Regions from separate parts of the Homo sapiens genome. Here region 1 is linked to region 2. The links are contacts of gene promoters, found by promoter capture Hi-C in blood cells and fetal thymus (Javierre and others, 2016). All regions are on one chromosome and are shown on one strand. The core of a region is centred on a gene start or on the middle of the fragment in contact, and the rest is flanking DNA. Distances in the headings are between cores, read along the strand shown.

Region 1 (2,700 bases), core at 201-2,700, 260 kb before region 2:
CTTAATTTAGGGTCTATGTGGGCATCACCCATTCACCAGTCCCCAAAAGAAGAGTAAGGCACTAAGAAGGAAGACAAAGACCCCTGCTTCCAGTGCATCTTCCAGCCTCCCCCATCCTCCCCTCTATGGAGATGCAGCAGTTCCATGTTCCCCTGGCAAAGCTGTGACAGTGCCGGAAAGGATACGTGCAGATCTGCAGACTCAGAGAGCCTGACTTCTCCACCAGTAGAGCATGGGCACCTGCCTTCCTACACAGCTGAGGGGATGAAGCCCTGCCTTGCCTCACCGCCTCACCTCCTCTCCAATGCTCTGAGCAGACCCAGGCATCCTATGGTCATATGCTGATTCTGGTAACCAGTTTCAAGGATCAGGTTTGAGCTCCAAACTCTGGAATCTGGTATCTCCGCCAGGACCTGTGCTGATTTCTCTGTTGCCCTCACATCCCAACCTGCTCCCTGCTCTTCTCAGCCTTGCTCTGAGCTCTGGGGGACTGGTCTCCACAGACTGCATTACCCAGTCTCCCTTGCTGGCTGCTTCCACTGTTTGTTCAGTGGGAGGCAACAGCAGGCAACCAGAGGGCAGGTGGAGAGAGAGATCAGGTATTTCTTTCCCAATCCCTCCCTGCTTTTCAGCATTGGCTTCCCCATGTTGGGGGCAAAGACAGAGCTTTCACTGGACTCCTATAATGCTATTCCCTCGTTACTATGGTTTGAATATAGTTTGTCCCCAACAAAACTCATGTTGTGGCTTGGTCCCCAAATGTGGTGGTGGGAGGTGGTGCCTTTAAGAGTGAATAGGTTATTAAGATGGATTAATGTCTTTCTTGGGAAAGGTATAGTTCCCATGAGAGTGGGTTGTCATAAAGCGAGGTTTGCCTCTCTTGTTTTGCCCATTTTGCACATGCCCAGTTTTCCTTCTGTTTCTCCATTTGGATGTTTGGATGCAGCATGAGGCCCTCACTAGAAGCAGCTGCTCAATCTTGAACTTCCCAGCTTCCAGAACTGTGAGCTAAATAAACTTCTTTTCGTTATAAATTAGCCAGTTTCAAGTATTCTGTTCTAGCAACAGATAATGGACTATGATACTCCCCTTGACCCTTTAGGAGTAGAGGCTTCCCATTGCTGCTAATCTCTCGGTGCCTCAACATCCCTTATCTGTCCTTTTACTCTGCTCCCACCTCTGTAAGCAGTCCCTTCATTAAGGTCTTGAACCATCTGAGCTAGATTCTCGTCTGCTGGAACCCTGACTGATACAGAAACCAACCCCTTAAGTCCTCTTCTCCTGTCCCTTTCCTTCCCCCAGCCCTGCCCTCTGATAGCTGATGCCCAGACCTCACCATTAATCACAGGCGTGAAGACAGCCATCCCAGCAAAGTTGGGGTCTGAGACAGTCTTGTCCAAGATGAGGCCTCCCACACTATAGAGACATAAAGACAAAATGACGCAAAGACCACTGAAGGGTTCTGCCTTAGTCTCTGGGATGAGAGGTCCAGGCCCACCTATCCTTGGAGATGAAGGGAAGCACCATGGCTCTCAGGAGTTCCTCACCATCCAGTCCTTGCCTCCCTTGACAGGATTAGGTGCTGCTCATAACATTCTGACTGGGCACAGTGACTCCAGAACAAGCTGGTGGTACTGGGTCAGGCAACCACCTCCTGTACCTGCCCTCTAAGTTGGCCGGAGGAGCAGCCTGCAGGACTATCTGCCTCTGAGGACCTCTGTTGTTCTGCCCACTCAGCATTTACTTCCCTTTCTGGTGATAGCACTGGGCTCCTCCACAGGGAACCACCTCTCTCAAGCTCAGTGACTGTGGCTCAGGTGACAATGCCTCAATGATAGCTAGGCTCCAGGTCCATCCAATCAGAGGATTGCAGCCCCAAGGCCACGCTGACTGGTTTGGAGATAATCATGTCACCAGATGAGAAGCAGTGGAACTCTATTCTGGGACTTTGTGGAACTGTTGGGGGAAGAATCTCTCTTCCCACTGGAATTTGTAGGAGTAAGAAAAGCATAAACCTGGGCTGTAGGCCATGACAGAGAAGAGCAGAGCTAAGAGTCACAGAGTACTGGGGCCCTGATCTTAGGTATGTCGCTGAATTCAGCTGTGCCTTTTTGGTTCTCCAGGCCAATACATTCTGCCTTGGAATGAAACCCAGTTCAGATGGTTTCTGTCATTTTCAACAGAAGGACATGTGACTGAAACACTAATGAACACATTTCTAGGGTCTGACCCCCACCCCATCTCTCCAGGGTTTAAAAAGAAGTCTGTGGAAGGGTTGGAGTGGGGTAGGAGTGGATACTCAGGGCCCCAGCCTACCTGCTGATGGCCATGGCAATGATAACAGGCTCCCAGCCCGAGTACAACACCTCCCTTGTGGCTGGACTTCGTCGGGCCAGCACCACCCAGACAGGCAGCAGGGCCACAAAGAAAGCACACACCAGTGGGTAGATGTATCGCCAGTGATCTGAGAGGGCAGAGGTCAGAAGGAGATAAGCACTGTGTTTCCCTACCCTAAGTTTCTCCCTGGCTCAGCCTGAAAATGTCCCAACAGATCAATAGCAAGACTACACTAAATGCCAGTAAACACATTATCCCATTTGATCTTCACTGGCAGCTCAGGAGGTAGGTGGGACAAGCCTTTTCCATTTTATGGATGAGGAAACCAAGGGAGAGAGCTAGCCAGGCACTGAGCCAATTAGG
Region 2 (6,738 bases), core at 4,017-6,516:
TGGCTGGATATTCCAACTGCCATGCCTTCACTACAAGCACCCTCCCATCTGGTATATCCACAGCCTCAGCACTGCCATAGGAATCCTTCCTACACATCCGTGACCACAACAAATGCCACCTCCTCCATGTAGTCTTCCCTCGTCACTAAAGTTAGAAACAACCTGCTCCTCCTTTCTGATCCAATAGCCCTTTCTTTGTACATCTTTTTAGCTTTGATTATACACCTACCTTTTGTTACAGCTGCTATGGTTGCCGCGGATATTTTCCTCGCTAAATTGGGGTGGGGGGTGAGCGTGGGGTAGCACTCTCTGAACCCAGGGCCCGTGTCTCATTCTTCTCTATCCTTGTAAGCTGTCTCACGCTGCTAAGGACATACCATATGCTACAGAGAAGTTTGACTGGATTGGATTTTTTTTTCTTTGATTTTAGCTACCCAGAATCAGATTGATCAATCCCCCTAGTGGCATTCTTACATCATGGGTCCACGAACTGCTCTTATGTTCTATTTATTTCATATTTTTGAGTCTTTGTTCTCCATTTCCCGTCCGCTCCACCCATCCCACCCCACTCCTGTTATAGACACACTCTCTTGTTTTATTAAAGTGTGACCTTCGAATCTATCTTCCATAATGTTATTTGCACACTTGTGTAAGCTTGAGTGATACTTGAGATTGTTGGGATTGAATTTGCCTTTGGCTGAGGGAATGAAACACCTCCACTGGAATTTCAGGCACCAGCACCTGCAAGGAAGTTTTTTGAGGCAGTGGCTCTTGGAATCACAGCAGGAGGTAGTCAGCAGCTTAGTCCAGGGGCGGCGGACTTATCCAGCTTCCTCTTCCGCTTCTTCTGCAGGCTCCCCCAACCTCAGAGCCTCCTTGTTGCCTCATGCCTGGACTTTGCCCCTCTGGTAGAGCCTTTCTACACAGCCGCTGCACTGCCAGCCAGCAGGCTCCGGGGGGAATTCTTGTGTCCAAGCAATTGCTGTCCTCTTGACACATCGCTATTTGAGAACACCCAATCTGTTCCTCCTGAATCTTTTGGCTTGCACCCCTGGATGTAGCATAGCACACTCTTGGCAGATAAGGCAAAATGCTCCTCTCTTGCCCTATGGTGAAGAAATGCCATGGGTCCTTAGATCAGCAATTCTCAAACTCTTTGGCCTCCAGACCCCTGTACACTCTCAAAAAGTACTAAGGAACCCAAAACGCTATTGTTTATGTAGTTTATATCTATTCATATTGACCATATCAGAAATTAAAACTAAGAAAATTTAAAAATATTTATCTAATCCCCTTAGAAAATAGTACCAAAGCCATTACATCTTAAACATAACACTTTTTATGAAATATAACTATTTCCCAAAGCATGAAGAATTTAATGAAAAGAGAAGCACTGTTTTATGCATGTGCAAATCTCATTATTCATACCTAGCTCAATAAAAGACAGCTGAGTTCTCAGGTCTGCCTTTGCACTCAGTCTCATGCCATACCACATGTCACATAGACTTTGGGAAACTCCACTGTATGCTTGAGAGAAACTGAGAGTGAAAAAGGCAACTAGTATCTTAGTATTATTAAGAGAGTGGTTTTGACCTCATGAACCCTCTGAAAAGATCTCTGGAACCCCCAGGGGGTCCCTGGACTACACTTTGAGAACTGCTCCCTAGATCATTGGTTTCTTGATGACAAGGCCTTTTTCTATTCATCCTTACAGACTGGGTTATTTATTTATTTATATTTATTTATTTATTTATTTAAACTGAAAGACCAGTGTAATAGGACAGACTGGGCTTTAAACAGACTATGTAGTTGGCACTCAGTAAACTTTGCCTGAATTGTTTGGAAATGTCTGTGTCATGAGGGTTTATCGCTCCATCATCAGCATCCAGGGACATGCTATACTCACTCTAGTGATGCTGTTATTGCTGAAGGCGTTTGGATTCTCCTTGGAGGTCGGCCTTTAGAGAAATTGGTAGTTCTGTTGAATATCCTCAGTGATGTCATATCTTTGTTCTCTGAGGAGTGCTTTGATTTTTGGAAACAGCCAGAGTGAAATCTGGATTATAATATGAGTAGTCAAATTGGGTAACACTGTATTTTGGATTTGTAAAAAGGAATACTGACTTCCTAAAACTGGGATGGCAGATCTACTTTAATGGCCATTTCTCTAATTTTACACACATATTTACACCTGTGCAAATGATGTTTGTTGCAGTTTAATAATTACATCATCATTTCAAGTGTAAAAAGTGGAAACAATCTAAATTTACTACTAGATGACCAGTTAAATAAACTGTGAGCAACCATAGAACGGAACACTCTGAAGAGGAAGAAAGGAATGAGAAAGTTCTGTATGTATTAATAATAAATTAACTCCTAGATATATTAAGTGAAAAAGCAAAAGGCAAAACAAAGTATGTAGTACACTGTCATGTGTAAGGAAGACGCCTGTATGGTGAGTGTGTTTCTGTGTGTCTGTGTGTTTGCTCATGTACACATAACGTACACAATAAACTGGGCATGCTGGTTTCCTCCAGGGAGGAGAACTAGATGGCTGGGGTCAAGAGCAGATGAGCAGCTTTTCCAGGACTATCCTTTTGTACCTTTTGAATTCTAAAACCATCTGAATGTGACCTAATGAAACAAACACTTCAAAAGTCCCAAACTGAAAAGGTGATGATGTCCTCCCCTTACAAAATTAAAAATAAAAACAATTTTAACACTTAGAAAACCTATTCTCTAAAAGAATTCTCTGTATTTCCTGGCCAATAACACAATTGTTAGAAGAAATGTACAATGTACCAGGTGACATGTGGAAGGGGACAACAGAAGGGGGCAATGACAGGCACTTGTGAAAACATTTGCCTTTTTCTTGATCACGTCTTGTTCCTCTTCTCATCCTTGCTTCATTTCACAAATAGGGGAACTGAGTCCAAGTAAGTGAAGTGACTCATCCGTGCCACCTGGGCTCTTGGTTCCAATGCTTGCCTTGTTAGGGGATTTCCTGACTGCTCCTGCAGCTCTCTTTGCTAGAATGTGGTAAGAGTTGGGGGAGGAGAGGGTGGCAGATCCTCTTTCATTTGGCCTTAAGCACACCTCCCTCTTCGCCTCTCACCCTGAGCAGGGCTGGCGCCTGAGGCCGGTGAACACCTGTGGTGGTGGCTGTGGGACAGCATCTTCCCCTGCTCTTTCTCTTCCTTCTTCCCCTTGGCCACCCACACCCAGGCAGGTGTCCTCCCCAACCCCAGGACACTGCTCTTGGTGTTTCACAGGCACGTGTCCTCTTTTTCTGAAATTGACATTACCCAGTTCAACATCACCTACTTTACCGGAGTACTTTGGGCTCTTTCAAATCAATTTCCGCTTCGAAGGCTAAAGATTTGTCATCAGCTAAGAGGTTCAAAAGTCTGTGGTGTAGGCTCTCCAAAATTCTGGCAGAGGTCAGTTGACCCTGGCTTTTATGAAGGAGTCTTTGGCATTCATTCATTCATTCATTTATTGAAGAAATATGTATTGGACCTATTCATTGCATGAGGCACTTTCTAGACACTGGGGGTGAAATGTTGGCCAAAACAGATAAGGTCTCTGTTCTTATGAAGCTCACATTCATGTGATGAGAGGCTGACAATAATCAAGTAAACAAATAAATGATCAAGGTGACTTCAGATACTAATAGATGAGAGGGCGATGTGACAGATAGGGTCTGGGGAGCCACCTTTGAATTTGTGCTGAATTCTATCTGAAGATGCCTTCACTAAGAGAGAGGTGCTGTCTCCATGGCCTTTGAGGCCCTCCCCTCCAGTGGTGAGATTTTAACAATCTCCCCATCTGACAGGTTCCCATGCAGGAATGAAAGACATGGAAGGGAAGAGGGGGGCCAGCTCCCTGAGTCCTGTGTCCACCAGCTGCTGCTAAATACCTCTGAGAAACTCTGCTTCTATCTAAGGGGACCTACTTCTCTCGGGAATCTCAATACTTGGAACAAGAACCTCCTAGACGGACCCTTTGGCATAATGAATTGGACCAACTGTAGGTTCCAGGACTAGAGAGCCAGCAATGCCTCCATGAACAATCTCACCCAATTACTCTGCTCAGGTAAGACCAACTGAAAACTAGAACAATACAAATGGTGGTTATTCCTGTCTTCTGTTTCTTTGTTTGTTTTTGTGACAGGGTCTTGCTCTGTCACCCAGGCTAGAGTACAATGGTGTGATCATGGCTCACTGCAGCCTCGACTTCCCTAGCTTAAGTGATTCTCCTATCTCAGCCTCTCAAGGAGCTGGGACTACAGGCATGCAGTAGCACACCCAGCTAATTTTCGGATTTTTTTTTTTTAAAGTAGAGACAAGGTCTAGCTATATTGCCCAGGCTGGTCTCAAACTCTTGAGCTCAGGCGGTCCTCCTGCCTTGACTTCCCAAAGTGCTGAGATTATAGGCGTGAGCCACTGGGCCTGGCTCGTTATTACTGTTGAATAATAGTCTGATCACTGAGTTCTTAAACAACTCCATGAGGTAGGCATTCATATTCTGTCTGTTTCACAGATGAGGCTCAGAAAAGCTAAGTGTTTGTCCTAAGATCACAGTTAGGAAGTGTCTGAGACCCAGGTCACTGTGAGGGAAGAGAGAGACCCTCTCATATTGTTTTATATTGTTTTATACTCAGTACCTGTTTTAAGGAAAAACAACAAGGAAGTAAAACCAAAGACAGGCAGTCCGGCGCCAGGCCCGAAACCAGGCCTGGGCCTGCCTGGCCTAAACCCAGTAGTTAAAAATCAACTCATAACTTAGAAACTGATGTTATTCATAGATTCCAGACATTGTATAGAAGAACATTGTGAAACTCCCTGCCCTGTTCTGTTTCTCTCTGACCACCGGTGCATGCAGCCCCTGTCACATACCGCCTGCTTGCTCAAATCAATCATGACCCTTTCATGTGAAATCTTTAGTATTGTGAGCCCTTAAAAGGGACGGAAATTGTGCATTCGGGGAGCTCGGATTTTAAGGCAGTAGCCTGCTGATGCTCCCAGCTGAATAAAGCCCTTCCTTCTACAATTTGGTGTCTGAGGGGTTTTGTCTGCGGCTCGTCCTGCTACATTTCTTGGTTCCCTGACCAGGAAACGAGGTAACTGATGGACAGCCGAGGCAGCCCCTTAGGCGGCTTAGGCCTCCCCTGTGGAGCATCCCTGAGGCGGACTCCGGCCAGCCCGAGTGACGCGATCCAAAGAGCACTCCCGGGTAGGAAATTGCCCCGGTGGAATGCCTCACCAGAGCAGCGTGTAGCAGTTCCCTGTGGAGGATTAACACAGTGGCTGAACACCGGGAAGGAACTGGCACTTGGAGTCCGGACATCTGAAACTTGGTAAGACTAGTCTTTGGAACTTGCCCCACTCCATCTAGGTGGAAGTGTGGCCTGATCACCCACGACATGCCTGCATTGGCACTTCTGTTCTGGTTTTGACTTGACTTAGATTGTGTGATACTTTGGTTTTGGTTTTGGTTTTGACCTGGCTTGGATTTCTGGATACTCTGATTTTGGTTTTGATTTTGGTTTGGTGTAAACTGCAAGAGTGTGTATGCCCTTTTTACCTGTTTTTTTGTTTGTGGCATGTGTGTGGTGTGGGTGTGGTGTTTTGTCTCGAAGAAGCATGGGTCAGGTACAAATAAGCCCACCCCACTAGGAACTATGTTAAAAAAAAATTCAAGAAAGAATTTAAGGGAGATTACAGTGTTACTGTGACACCAGGAAAACTTAGAACTTTGTGTGAAATAGACTGGCCAGCATTAGAGGTGGGTTGGCCATCAGAAGGAAGCCTGGACAGGTCCCTTGTTTCAAAGGTATGACACAAGGTAACCCGTAAGCCAAGGCACCCAGACCAGTTTCCATACATAGAAAGTTACAGCTGCTTTTATACCCCCTTGCCCCGCCAACGTAGTTAAGAGAACAGCAGCATAAGCGGCTGGCAGAGGCAAGGAAAGACCAGTAGAGAGAAAAAAAGGCCATCTATACCAATTCTAAGTTAATTTAGACTAAACAAGGTCTTAATAGCAAAGGATAATTGAAATCCCAAACTTACAAGGTTTTCAACAAAAGTGAAGTTTGCTTAAAGTTAACAGTGTAACATGTATTATGGTAACTTCTAATCTTGTGGCCTTAGACAGTCTAGTCCAAAGGCATAAAGAAAGTTTGCTTTAAAAAAAAAAAAAAGGAATGGTTATCTTCAAAAAAAAAAAAAAGTGGGGGGAGACAGAATTTATGTAAAAAGAGTGTTATATGGTAAATTCTTGTCCTGAAATAAACTAACTGGTGTTTAAAGAAAAAAAATGTTTGTAATAAGTCAGAAAGTTGAGACACATTGAAGAATTGTCGGCAAAAGTCGTGAAAGAAAAAATGTTATAAAAAAATTTATGCAAAAAATGTTGTATAATTTAAAAGTAATAAGGCCTCCTGAGTACTATTAAAAAAACAGTTTATGTGCAAGGTGTATAAGAAAAGTAAAACATACCTTTGGTAAAAAGATTATAAAGGGGCATAAGAATGTGGATTTTTACCTACATTAAAAGGTTAAAAACAATTATTGTTTTAAAAGTTTAAGCAAGTTTTAAAACGTTAATTATAAAGAAAATTCTGTGTGTAAACATATTAGCTAAAGTTAAAAAGGTATCATCCAGTTTTTCTGTGAACTGGACATTAAAGTAAAAAATGCCACAGGTTTTTCTTAAAGCATCAACCTGCTCTTT

The links. The method cuts DNA at HindIII sites, captures the fragments that hold promoters and counts their contacts. A CHiCAGO score of 5 or more calls a contact.
Region 1: a contact is called between a fragment that was not itself captured here and the fragment with the promoter of RHEX in region 2, in 1 of 17 cell types (erythroblasts). The highest score is 5.2, in erythroblasts.

What each region holds. Positions count from the first base shown.
Region 1 is chr1:205,795,588-205,798,287 of GRCh38, forward strand. It overlaps SLC41A1 (solute carrier family 41 member 1), which reads right to left. Exons shown (of 11, transcript NM_173854.6): 7 at 2,317-2,464; 8 at 1,337-1,416. Among named protein-coding and RNA genes, the nearest start is that of SLC41A1, 16 kb to the right of the region's middle. The HindIII fragment of the contact is 5,369 bases long and covers 1-2,700 here.
Region 2 is chr1:206,047,907-206,054,644 of GRCh38, forward strand. It overlaps RHEX (regulator of hemoglobinization and erythroid cell expansion), which reads left to right and starts at 5,267. Exons shown (of 6, transcript NM_001007544.4): 1 at 5,267-5,359. It overlaps LOC105372857 (a long non-coding RNA gene), which reads right to left. Exons shown (of 3, transcript XR_922473.3): 3 at 5,537-6,738. RefSeq lists enhancers at 1,576-1,645, 2,800-3,299, 4,663-4,902, 5,323-5,382. The HindIII fragment of the contact is 7,500 bases long and covers 657-6,738 here.